2 separate regions of the Homo sapiens genome follow, and region 2 is linked to region 1. Evidence: promoter capture Hi-C in human tissues and cell types (Jung and others, 2019). All regions are on one chromosome and are shown on one strand. Each heading gives the region's core, a stretch centred on a gene start or on the middle of the fragment in contact. The rest is flanking DNA. Distances are from core to core; before and after follow the strand shown. Region 1 holds the start of HYPK (huntingtin interacting protein K). Region 2 overlaps WDR76 (WD repeat domain 76).

Region 1 (5,810 bases), core at 3,311-5,810:
AAAAGGCAGCTGGGGTACGAGATGTATTTGAGCGGCCATCTGCCAAGAAGCGGAAAACTACCTAGGGTCCAACTGCTTATTCTTCCAACTGTGGAACACAAGGGGAGTCTCAGCATCTGGTCCTTGATTTGGTTTTTTCATTGTTTCCTTGGCCCCTGTATCCAGATATTGGACTTACTGCTATACTTGTGATACTGGGTAGCCCAGACTTTGAAGGTGCTTTGTGAGGTTTGGACTCATGCTGAGAAACCCACAGGAAAGCACTGTCCAGGTAGGATTAGAGGCTTCCCACTTAAAACTATTTCTGAGAAATCTTAGGTTTTATCACTGCTATGGTTTCCCATATTTACTTGGGACTGTTCTGACTTTCTTTTTCCAGCCCTTAGCTTGGGTTAGAAAAGTGGACATGTAAGTGAACAATGCATTACTTCTACCTTAGGTTTAGGAGTAATATACCCGGAAATCTAAGCTCATGGAAACATGTTTTCCATTTTTGCTTGGAGTCCGTTTTTCTAGTTGTACATACTTTTTGATCCATATATGTGTGCATGTCAAGAAATAAAAGAATCACACAACAAGGAGATTTTTAGCATGATACTGGAAATAAAATGTCCAAGCTGACAAGTATTAATTGCCTATTAAAGTAAAAGATAACAATTGTCAGGCAGAAGGTGTTTCACATTTTGATAATTCCCTTTGATCTCAGAAACAAGCTCAGGTACTAGCTTGGCTTTAGGTAGCATCTGGATTTATTCCATGACCAAATACAGATGTTTTTGAGAAGACCAAGGTCTTCTCACATCCTTTAAATGTCCCACTGGAAGAATCAAATAGTTTAGTGTCGTACGATAAAAATGAATGCAAATAATTACTATGAGGTGGTAAATACATAAAGATGAACACAGGTACAAGTCACTGTTGTGTGGGATACAATCTAAGAATTATCCTAGAGTCAGAATGAGGGTAAGGCCTTGAAACTCTTGGAGAAATGTCTGTAATTGCCATTTGAGTGTCCTTACAGCAGACTCAGGGGCCGTTGCAGGGTTTTTTTTTTGTTTGTTTGTTTGTTTTAAAGAGACGGCTCTGTTGCCCAGGCTAGAGTGCCTCAGCCTCCCGAGTAGCTGGGACTACAGGCGCCTGCCACCATGCCTGGCTAATTTTTGTATTTTTAGTAGAGACGGGGTTTCACCATGTTAGCCAGGATGGTCTTGATCTTCACTTCGCGATCCGCCCGCCTCAGCCTCCCAAAGTGCTGAGATTACAGGCGTTGAGCCACTGTGCCTAGCTGGGGCCGTCACAGTTTTATAGTTGAGGAAACTAGTTCAACATGTGTGAGTTGGTCCAAGCTGATTTTTTTTTTTTTTTTTTTTGAGATGGAGTTTCACTCTTGTTGCCCAGTCTGGAGTGCAGTGGCGCGATCTCTGCTCACTGCAACCTCCTGGGTTCAAGAGATTCTCCTGCCTCAGCCTCCCTAGTAGCTGGAATTACAGGCGTCCACCACCACACCCAGCTAATTTTTTTTTGTACTTTTAGTAGAGATGGGGTTTCACCATTTTGGCCAGGCTCGTCTCAAACTCCTGATCCCAGGTGATCCACCTGCCTCGGCCTCCCAGAGTGCTGGGATTATAGGCATGCGCCACCACGCCCGGCCCTGATTAACCTTTAAAGTAAAATTACCTTCTCTCTAGGATAGGAAATGGCATGTAGAATGTATTATGGCTTAGAATTTGAATACCAATCAAAACCTTTCATAGGTTTTTTTCGTTTTGAGACAGTCTTGCTCTGTCGCCCAGGCTGGAGTGCAGTAGCACAATCTCAGCTCACTGCAGCCTCAACCTCCCAGGCTCAAGCAAATCCATCTCAGCCTCCAGAGTATCTGGGACCACAGACAGGCACATGCCACCATGCCTGGCTTTTTTTTTTTTTAATTTTAGTAGAGACAAGGTCATGCTATGTTGCCCAGGCTGGTCTGGAAATCCTGACCTGACACAGTCCTCCCAGCCCAGCCTCCCCAAAGTGCTGGGGTTACAGGCATGAGTCACCACACCTGGCCCAACCTTTGATATCTTCTAGTCTTACCATGTTCTAACCCTCAGGTACCTAAATTCTTTTTTTGGTGGTGGGGGGAGCGCGGTAGAGACGAAATCTCACTGTGTTGCCCAAGCTGGTCTCAAACTGCTGGGCTCAAGTGATCGTCTTGCCTCAGCTTCCCAAGGTGTTGGGATTACAGGCATGAGCCACCATGCCTGGCCCCTAAATTCTTTTTTGTTGTTTTGTTTTTGAGACAGTCTCGCTCTGTCACCCAGGCTGGAGTACAGTGGCACAATCTCAGCTCACTGCAACTTCCGCCTCCCTGGTTCAAGCAATTCTTCTGCTTCAGCCTCCTGAGTAGCTGGGACTACAGGCATGCACCACCACGCCTGGCTAATTTTATTTTTTTTGTATTTTTAGTAGAGACAGGGTTTCACCATGTTGGCCAGGCTTGTCTTCAACTCCTGACCTCATGATCCGACTGCCTCAGCCTCCCAAAGTGCTGGGATTACAGGTGTGAGCCACTGTGCCCGGGCTTTTTTTTTTTTTTTTTTTTTTGAGATGGAGTTTCACTCTTTCCCCCAGGCTGGAGTACAGTAGTACAGTAGTGTGATCTCAGCTCACTGCAACCTCTGCTTTCCAATTTCAAGCGATTCCTGCCTCAGCCTCCAGAATAGCTGGGATTATAGGCGCCCACCACCATGCCCAGCTAATTTTTCTATTTTCAGTGGAGACGGGGTTTCACATGTTGGCCAGGCTGGTCTTGAATTCCTGACCTCGTGATCTACCTGCCTCGACCTCCCAAAGTGCTGGGATTAGAGGTGTGAGCCACAGCACCCAGCCAAATTATTTTTTTTTAATCACTCAAAATCAAGCATGTTGTAGGTACCAAAATTCTAACTCAAGGTGGCCTATGAACTGGGTTCATAACCTACATCTATCTATATATATAGTGGCTCCTAGGCAGGTAGCTGGCCTTTTAGATATTCATAAGCTGTCTTGGAGACACATGCCATTTGAGTACAGTAACTCTGCTGAGACTCCAGATGTACCTTGAATACTGTTGAGAGCTAGTCAGATGAATGAGACTGGCCTGCCACCTAGCATCTGCACATGAGGTATTCTTCTACACTGATTTTTCATACAGGTGTGCTAGATTTTAATGGGTCACTTAAATTCAGTTAGTCTCCAACATATAAATTCTCCACAACATAGGATATAGTATACACTCTACTTGACCCAAGATGATAAAACTGAAAAAGACAAAAAAAAATTTTATTGCCATAAATTAATCCAGTAGGTATATTTGAGAAAGCACGCATCAGTTGGTTAGGGCAATAAGCGCCTCTACCACGTTGCCCATGTGTTCCCGCAAACTGCGTTCTGCTGCTGCTCGAGATATCTCCATCTCAGTCATCTGCAGAAAAAAATCATGTTACATAGGTTCCCAGGCATTAATGTGCCACCAAATATACTGACTCCGCTTGTTTCAGGAAACAACCCAAATTAAGCAGAATAGCCTCCCCTCCGCATACACTAGTTAGGCACTACCACTCACTATTAGCTCCAGATCTTCCTTCTTGATAGTGACTTTTGCCAGTTCTTTCTCCCTGCAAAAATATTTAAATATATTAGTCCTCATTCTCAACCAACACCATAAACTCCCAGGAAGGGTCATTCCCAGAAGTGCCCTGTAAATAAATCTTGATAAACCCTTGATTGAAAATAAAAACTCCCACTAATACTCCTTTCCCCTGGAGTCTTGGCAGCAGGTGTTGCCAGGAGGCCTTCTGCTAACAAGAGTAAAGTTGTGGCGCCTAGATCTGCAGGAATTGGTGATAAATTTGAAGAACGGTATAAAGGCTTAATAATGGTTTTTATTTTTGTCTGGGGACCGGGGAGGGAAGAACTGTTAAAGTTGGCTGCCCCTGAAGACTTACCGCTCCTGTTTGGCTTTCTGCTCCCGGGACCTTCTGTCTCCAATCACAGACATGGCCTATGGGAAAGGCAGGTCTAGTTACTGCACCGCTACCCACAATTCCCAATAATCTAAAAGGCCAACAAAACAAGCGGTTCATGCATGGATTCACGATGACAAGTGTTACCAGGTAGCAAGGACTATGTTTAATTCCATTCTATGCACCTGAGGTCCCCTTAAGCCCACTATCAAGCTCCTTTAGGCAAGCGGCGCGCTCCGGTGACCGCTGTTTCCCTCGGCTCTACCCTATTGCCTCCTCCTGCCAACGGGATCAGAACCCCGTCTTGGAGCGCTGGCTTCCAGCTACAGCCTCAGAGCCCCCCTCTGCTCTCAGCCCGCCCCGACATGCTCTTGGCCAACCTTACCGTCTCCAGATTGGAACTCTGGATCTCCTTCTCCTCTGCATAGTCGGTGACCCGCTCCAAGTCCGCCGCACCGCTGTCATGTTTCCGTGGCTTCTCCGGAGGCCGCTCTGGTCCACTGGTCTCAGTCTCCAACTCCAGCTCCACATCCCCCTCGGTCGCCATATCTATTTCACCACGCCGCCGCATAAGCCCCACCTCACGCCGACTTCCGGCAACTGACACAGCTTCCGCCCGGGGAGGAGGCGGGGCTGGCCCTGGGCCACACCTTCTTTCTGCTCCAGTTCTAGAAGCTTCAGGGAGGAAGGCGGTTCGTCTCTCAGACTTCCTTTCGGGTTTGTACAGTGTTTTGTGCGAGGCCTTCTCTCAGACCTAACCCGACACCGCTCCAGCCCACCCCACCGATATCCTTAACCACCTCATAAACTAGGAATAGTCCCCTCAACACATAAACACGCACCCACCCACCTCAGGGAACTCCGTTCAACCTGAATGACGTCTAATCCTAAACCAATAAAGAATGCTAATCCACAGGGGGCCAGATAGACAAACTGCCCCCTAATCTGGAGAGAACAGCCTGAGTGGCCGCAGTGTTGAGGCCCTAAGGACAAAGCTCCTTCACAGGGCATTTGCATTTACCGCAACCTGGAGGTCAGTGTTCTCTTCCGGACGTCTCCATTCTGCCCGGGACCGGGTGCTCAGCCCCAACACAGTGGCAGTCCAATGGGCTGAGGACAGAAGCAACTGCTGCTCTCATCTGCCTTCCATCTGGTGGACCTAAGCCTAATCCCTGGGACAAGGATGGTGGGTGCCAAGGCCGGCCCCAGCCCCGGCACCTCCCTGGGCCTGGCACAGCAGCACAGCGGAGGCAGCAGTGTCCTAGTGAAAAGTCCCTTCTGTCAGGTGAGAGGGTGCGAAGGGGAGAGTGGCCGAAGCTGGGGAGGAAGACGTGCAGAAGCCAATAAAAACGACAGGCCTCTTTTCTCCTCTAATGTCGTTCTGGTTCGTTGCCCCAGGTATAATCTGTAAATCTCTCCCGCCATGTTTCCAGCCCCAGGTGTTTAGGTCGAGAGAAAGGTCAGATATCTCAAGCCTGCTTATAATGAAAGCCCTACTAAGTTGTCAGTGGGCGGCAATCCCAAATGGCTGGAATCAGCTTGAAACAGAACCTGAGTAAAAGGAAGAAAGGGGAAGGGGAAATTTTGGAATTCAACCTCCTGGGTTAACCTCACACATACATTAACGTATGCCTTTCCTCAGCAAGTCTCCACCTCGCTGCCTTGCATCTGCTCTACTCCCAGGTGTGCTGCTGTGGGCCTGCTCCTTGTGCCAGCTGCTGCCACTCTAGGTGGCCCTCTCTCACCGCATCCACTTGCAGCCGCCTGTTCTACATCCTCCTCCATGTGGGGGCCTCAGCAATCTGCTGCCTCCTGCTGTCA
Region 2 (5,810 bases), core at 2,242-4,741, 46 kb before region 1:
AGATGGAAGTTTTAAAAAAATCACTCCAGGCCAGGCGCGGTGGCTCACCTGTAATCCCAGCACTTTGGGAGGCTGAGGTGGGTGGATCACGAGGTCAGGAATTCAAGACCAGCCTGGCCAAGATGGTGAAACCCCGTCTCTACTAAAAATACAAAAATTAGCCGGGCGTGGTGGCAGACACCTGTAATTCCAGCTACTCAGGAGGCTGAGGCAGAGAATTGCTTGAACCGGGGAGGCAGAGGTTGCAGTGAGCCAAGATTGCACCACTGAACTCCAGCCTGGGCGACAAAGCGAGACTCCGTCTCAAAAAAAAAAATCATTCCAAATCTAAAATTAACCAAAATTATCATTGAAACACTGAGATTATAGACATCTTTATAGTTAAATTTAATGTGATTTAAAACGGCATATACAGCATGGTCCTTTTTTAAAATTTCTTCGCTATCATTCTATCTGTATAGGTACACATAAATCTGTCAAAATAATATAAGAAAATGAAGCTAAAGGAATTTTTGAATTTCAAGTATTTACAGAGACATTATCTTCTACAATGGCAAAAGTATAAAACAAAAAGCAATTGTAGTCATTATGCTTTTTATTTTTTAAACTGTTAATTTTAGATAATTTATATTGATTTGAGAATATTATTCTCACCCTTCCTCCAACAGTCTTTTTTTTTTTTTTTTTGAGATGAAGTCTCACTCTGTCACCCAGGCTTGAGTGCAGTGGCACGATCTCAGCTCACTGCAACCTCCACCTCCCAGGTTCAAGCGATTCTCCTGTCTCAGCCTCCTGAGTCGCTGGGATTACAGGCACCCACCACCATGCTTGGCTAATTTTTGTATTTTTAGTGGAGACGGGGTTTCACCATGTTGAGACAGCAGGTAATCTGAAATGCAGTTTTTTTGGCCTCAAAAAAAAAAAAAAAAAAGTCTCAACTCTGTCGCCCAGGCTGGAGTGCAGTGGTGCAATGCCGGCTCACTGCAACCTCTGCCTCCCGGGTTCAAGCAATTCTCCTGCCTTAGTTTCCCAAGTGGCTGGGATTACAGGTGCACATCACCATACCCAGCTAATTTTGTATTTTTAGTAGAGACAGGGTTTCACCATGTTAGTCAGGCTGATCTTGAACTCGACCTCAGGTGATTCACCTGCCTCAGCCTCCCAAAGTGTTGGGATTACAGGCATGAGCCACTGCGCCCGGCCTTGTTCATTATTTTATACCAGGATTCATACCACCTACTTGTATGGCGGTGGAGGGTGTTACCACTCCCGTGGGCCAAGAAAACTTCCTTTGAAGACAATCAGTTCTACTACTCACTGTCCCTACTTCTTCTATTTTTCCTGATTTCACCCCAGCAACTATTTCCCCATTCCTCATTGAAAAGAGGAAAAATCGGAATACCCAATGTGCTTCTCTCTACTTTTGATAATATAGAAAATTCTCAGGATTTGGTCAATTTACCAGTATAGATTCTGCACACGGGGCAGGGCAGAAGCTAAATTATGCTGTCTCCTAGCTCTGCTACAGATTTGTTTCTCTCCTTGGTAGCTAGTTTTTGAAGTATACTACATTAGGTTCTGCTTCTTTCTTATTGCAGTAAGTGAATTTTTTTTCTTTTTTTGAGATAGGGTCTCACTCTGTCAATCCAGCCTGGAGTACAGTGACACAATCATGGCTCACTGCAGCCTCAACCGCCTTGAGCTCAGGTGATATTCCCAGCTCAACTTCCTGAGTAGCTGGGACTAATGGCACACACCACTACATCCAGTTTTTTTTTTGTTTGTTTGTTTTTTTTAAGAGACAGGCATCTCACTATGTCACCTAGGCAGGTCTCAAATTAGTGGGCTTAAGCCATCCTCCTGCCTTGACTTCCCAAAGCCCTGGAATTACAAGCATGAGCCACTGCACCCAGCCAGCATGAGGGATCTTATAGGGATGATGAAAATGTTCTAAAACCAGACTATGATAATTAAACAACTAAGTAAACTTATTAAAAACCACTGAGGCCAGGTGCAGTGGCTCACGCCTGTAATCGCAGCTCTGGGAGGCCGAAGCAGGTGAAAATCACTTGAGGTCAGGAGTTCCAGATCAGCCTGGCCAACATGGAGAAGCCTCATCTCTACAAAAAATACAAAAATTAGGCTGGGCACGGTGACTCATTCGTGTAAACCCAGCACTTTGGGAGGCCGAGGCGGGTGGATTACAAGGTCAGGAGTTCAAGACCAGCCTGGCCAAGATGGTGAAACCCCATCTCTACTAAAAAAACAAAAAAATTAGCCAGGTGTGGTAGCGGACGCCTGTAATCCCAGCCACTTGGGAGGCTGAGGCAGAGAACTGCTTGAACCCAGGAGGCGGAGGCTGCAGTGAGCAGAGATCACGCCACTGCATGCCAGCCTGGGCAACAGAGCAAGACTCGTCTCAAAAAAAAAAAAATTAGCCAGGTGTGGCAGCGAGCGCCTATAATCCCAGCTACTCAGGAGGCTGAGGCACGAGAATCACCTGAACCCAGGAGGCAGAGATTGCAGTGAGCCAGGATCACACCACAGCACTCCAGCCTGGGTGACAGAGCAAGATTCCCATCTCAAAAAAAAAGAAAAAAAAGCATTGAATTTTACATTTTTTAAATAGGATTTTATGATAGGTAAATTATTACCTCAATGAAGCCATTTTTTAAAAAAACTGGGGAAATTGTGAGCACAGGATAGACAAGGTAATATTGCTTTTAGACTTGTTAAATCTGTTAATGAGATTGCCAAATGTCCTGGAAAATTAGGTTGATGGAGATACTGGACTACAGAGACCTAGTAATACAGATTTTTTTTTTTTTTTTTTTTTTTTGAGGTGGTGTTTTGCTCTTGTTTCCCAGGCTGGAGTGCAATGGCGCCATCTCGGCTCACTGCAACCTCCGTCTCCTGTGTTCAAGCAAATCTCCTGCCTCAGCCTCCCAAGTAGCTGGGATTACAGGCATGTGCCACCATGCCCGGCTAATTTTGTATCTTTAGTAGAGATGGGATTTCATCATGTTGTTCAGGCTGGTCTTGAACTCCAGACCTCAGGTGATCCGCCAAACCTTGGCATCCCAAAGTGCTGGGATCACAGGTGTGAGCCACCGCGTCCGGCTGTAATACAGATTTTTGGAGTCATCATGAAAGATATGAAAAAAGGATTTTTATGTATGTCTTAAATCTATACAGATCAACTCATCCAAAAAAAAACCTTCATTTAATCATGCTAATTTTCAATTTTTCCTTTGCAAAATTCTTCAAAAAGTAGTCTCAGATGGGTGTGGTGGCTCACACCTGTAATCCCAGCACTTTGGGAGGCTGAAGCAGGTGGAGTGCTTGAGCTCAGGAGTTTGAGATGAGCCTAGGCAACATAGTGAGACCCATCTCTACAAAAAGTTAAAAAATTAGCCAGGTGTGGTGGCACATGACCGTAGTCCCAGCTACGCAGGAAGCTGAGGTGGAGAATTGCTTGACCGTGGGAAGTTGAGGCTGCAGTGAGCTATGATCATGCCACTGCACTCCAGCCTGGGCAACAGAGTGGGACCGTATCTCAGGGGCGGGAAAAAAAAAAAAAAGTCTCTATCCAATGCTTCTCCAGTTCTTTCATTACCCCCATACTTCCTTAATCTCCTAAAGCCTTTGTTCCTTACTTACCTCATTGTCAAAGCTATTCTCTCAACTCACTACATGGTACCCTATTTTCAAAATCAATGGCCTTTTCTCCATTCTTTTAACTTCTCTGCAAAAGGCTCTGTCAACCTCCCATCCTTGAAACTCATCTCTTGGCTTCCAAAACATACTATTCTGATCTTCTTCCCACTTTTTTGCTTCAGTTTTCTTTGCTAAATCCTATCACCTCCTATCCCCACTCACATCTTATCAAAATAAGGGAGAATCTATGATCCCAAAATAAGAACTTGGTTTCTGTCTTCAAACTTGCAAATTTTGTTTATAAACCCCAACCAACTTCAAGTCACCACTATTTCTTCACCTTCATTAATTGTCCTTATGGCATTTTTCATGTCTTTGGTCTTCTTCCCCAATAAGAAAATAAATTCAGAGAACATTAACTTGACTTTTCTCAATTTTGTAATAACAGACAGTATTTCATGCAGAATTATATGCACAATGAATGGAATTCAGTATCTATTTCTGACTCATCAAAGATAACTAAAATCATTCCAAAGCAGGTCCCTGGGAAGATATTTTGATACAGCTTAGAAACTGTTTCTTAGTCCATTTGGGATGCTAAAACAACATACCATAAACTGAGTGGCTTATCAACAGCAGCATTTTATTTCTCACAGTCCTGGTGACTAGGAAGACCAAGATCAAGCTTCCAGTTCATTCAGTGTCTGGTAAGGGCCTACTTTCTGGTTCATAGTTGGTGCCTTCTAGCTGTGTCCTCATATGGTAGAAGGGACAGTGGTCTCTCCTGGGTTTCTTTTATAAGGGCACTAATCTTATTCATGACCTAATCACCTCCCAAAGGTCCTACCTCCTAATACCATAGGGATTAGTATTTCAACATATGAATTTTGGGGAAGACAAAAACATTCAGACCATAGCAGACCATATTTTAAACACAACTAGAAAACTAAACTTCGGGCTGGGCGCCGTGGCTCATGCCTGTAATCCCAGCACTTTGGGAGGCCAAGGCAGGCAGATCACGAGGTCAGGAGATCAAGACCATGGGGAAACCCCACCTCTACTAAAAATAGAAAAAATTAGCCAGGCATGGTGGCAGGCGCCTGTAGTCCCAGCTACTCGGGAGGTTGAGGCAAGAGAATGGCGTGAACCTGAGAGGCGGAGCTTGCAGTGAGCCGAGATCACACCACTGCACTCCAGCCTGGGCGACAGAGCAAGACTCCCTCTCCAAAAAAAGAAAACTAAACTTTGATCTTTTTTTTTTTTTTTTTTTTTTTTTTTACACAGAGTCTCGCTCTGTCGCCCAGGCTGGAGTGCAGTGGTGCGATCTCGGCTCACTGCAAGCTCCCCCTCCCAGGTTCACGCCATTCTCCTGCTTCAGCCTCCCGAGTAGCTGGGACTACAGGCACCTGCCACCACGCCTAGCTAATTTGTTCCATTTTTAGTAGCGATGGGGTTTTTTAGTAGAGACGCGGTTTCACTGTGTTAGCCAGGACGGTCTCGATCTCCTGACTTCGTGATCCACCCGCCTCGGCCTCCCAAAGTGCTGGGATTACAGGCGTGAGCCACCGCTCCCAGCCCTTTTTTTTTTTTTGAGACGGAGTCTTACTCTATCACCCAGGCTGGATGGCACAGTGTCGACTCACTCCAACCTCCGTCTCCTGGGTTCAAGCAATTCTCCTGCCTCAGCCTCCTGAGTAGCTGGGATTACAGGCACCTACCACCACGCCCAGCTAATTTTTGTATTTTTTTACTACAGACGGGGTTTCACCATGTTGGCCAGGCTGGTCTCGAACTCCTGACCTCAGGTGATCCGACCGCCTCAGCCTCTCAAAGTGCTGGCATTACAGGCGTGACCCACCGCACCCGGCCACTTTAAATGTATATGTGAAAAGATCACACAAAGTGTAACAAAGTTTTCTGGCAGTTAATTTATGACCAGATGGTTAATGATATTCAAGCTAAAAATATTAAAGTTCTATAAAGCAAATTTAAATTCTTCCAGATTTCTAAAATTTGGAATCATAAAGCATCATAAAGCCCAAAATTGTAAGTCTCACGCAACATTTATAAACACATGGCTCTAGCCTATTCTCTTCCAGCCTATTTGCTTTAGTCAAACTATAATATATTCAAGAAATTTAATAACTTACCAA

What was found. The method cuts DNA at HindIII sites, captures the fragments that hold promoters and counts their contacts. A contact is called where the count stands out against the background at its distance.
Region 2: a contact is called between a fragment that was not itself captured here and the fragment with the promoter of HYPK in region 1, in 1 of the 25 tissues and cell types used here (lymphoblastoid cells).

The regions. Positions count from the first base shown.
Region 1 is chr15:43,799,349-43,805,158 of GRCh38, reverse strand. It overlaps HYPK (huntingtin interacting protein K), which reads right to left and starts at 4,560. Exons shown (of 4, transcript NM_016400.4): 1 at 4,375-4,560; 2 at 3,972-4,027; 3 at 3,590-3,641; 4 at 732-3,448. The coding sequence starts at 4,536. The coding sequence ends at 3,353. SERINC4 (serine incorporator 4) reads left to right here and starts at 4,939. Exons shown (of 12, transcript NM_001258031.2): 1 at 4,939-5,274; 2 at 5,673-5,810. The coding sequence starts at 5,173. SERF2-C15ORF63 (SERF2-C15orf63 readthrough) reads right to left here. Exons shown (of 6, transcript NR_037673.1): 3 at 4,375-4,664; 4 at 3,972-4,027; 5 at 3,590-3,641; 6 at 2,570-3,448. It overlaps MFAP1 (microfibril associated protein 1), which reads left to right. Exons shown (of 9, transcript NM_005926.3): 9 at 1-667. The coding sequence ends at 65. RefSeq lists enhancers at 4,284-4,533, 4,441-5,141, 5,142-5,810. The HindIII fragment of the contact is 6,811 bases long and covers 996-5,810 here.
Region 2 is chr15:43,844,052-43,849,861 of GRCh38, reverse strand. It overlaps WDR76 (WD repeat domain 76), which reads right to left. Exons shown (of 13, transcript NM_024908.4): 8 at 5,808-5,810. Among named protein-coding and RNA genes, the nearest start is that of WDR76, 20 kb to the right of the region's middle. The HindIII fragment of the contact is 4,377 bases long and covers 1,303-5,679 here.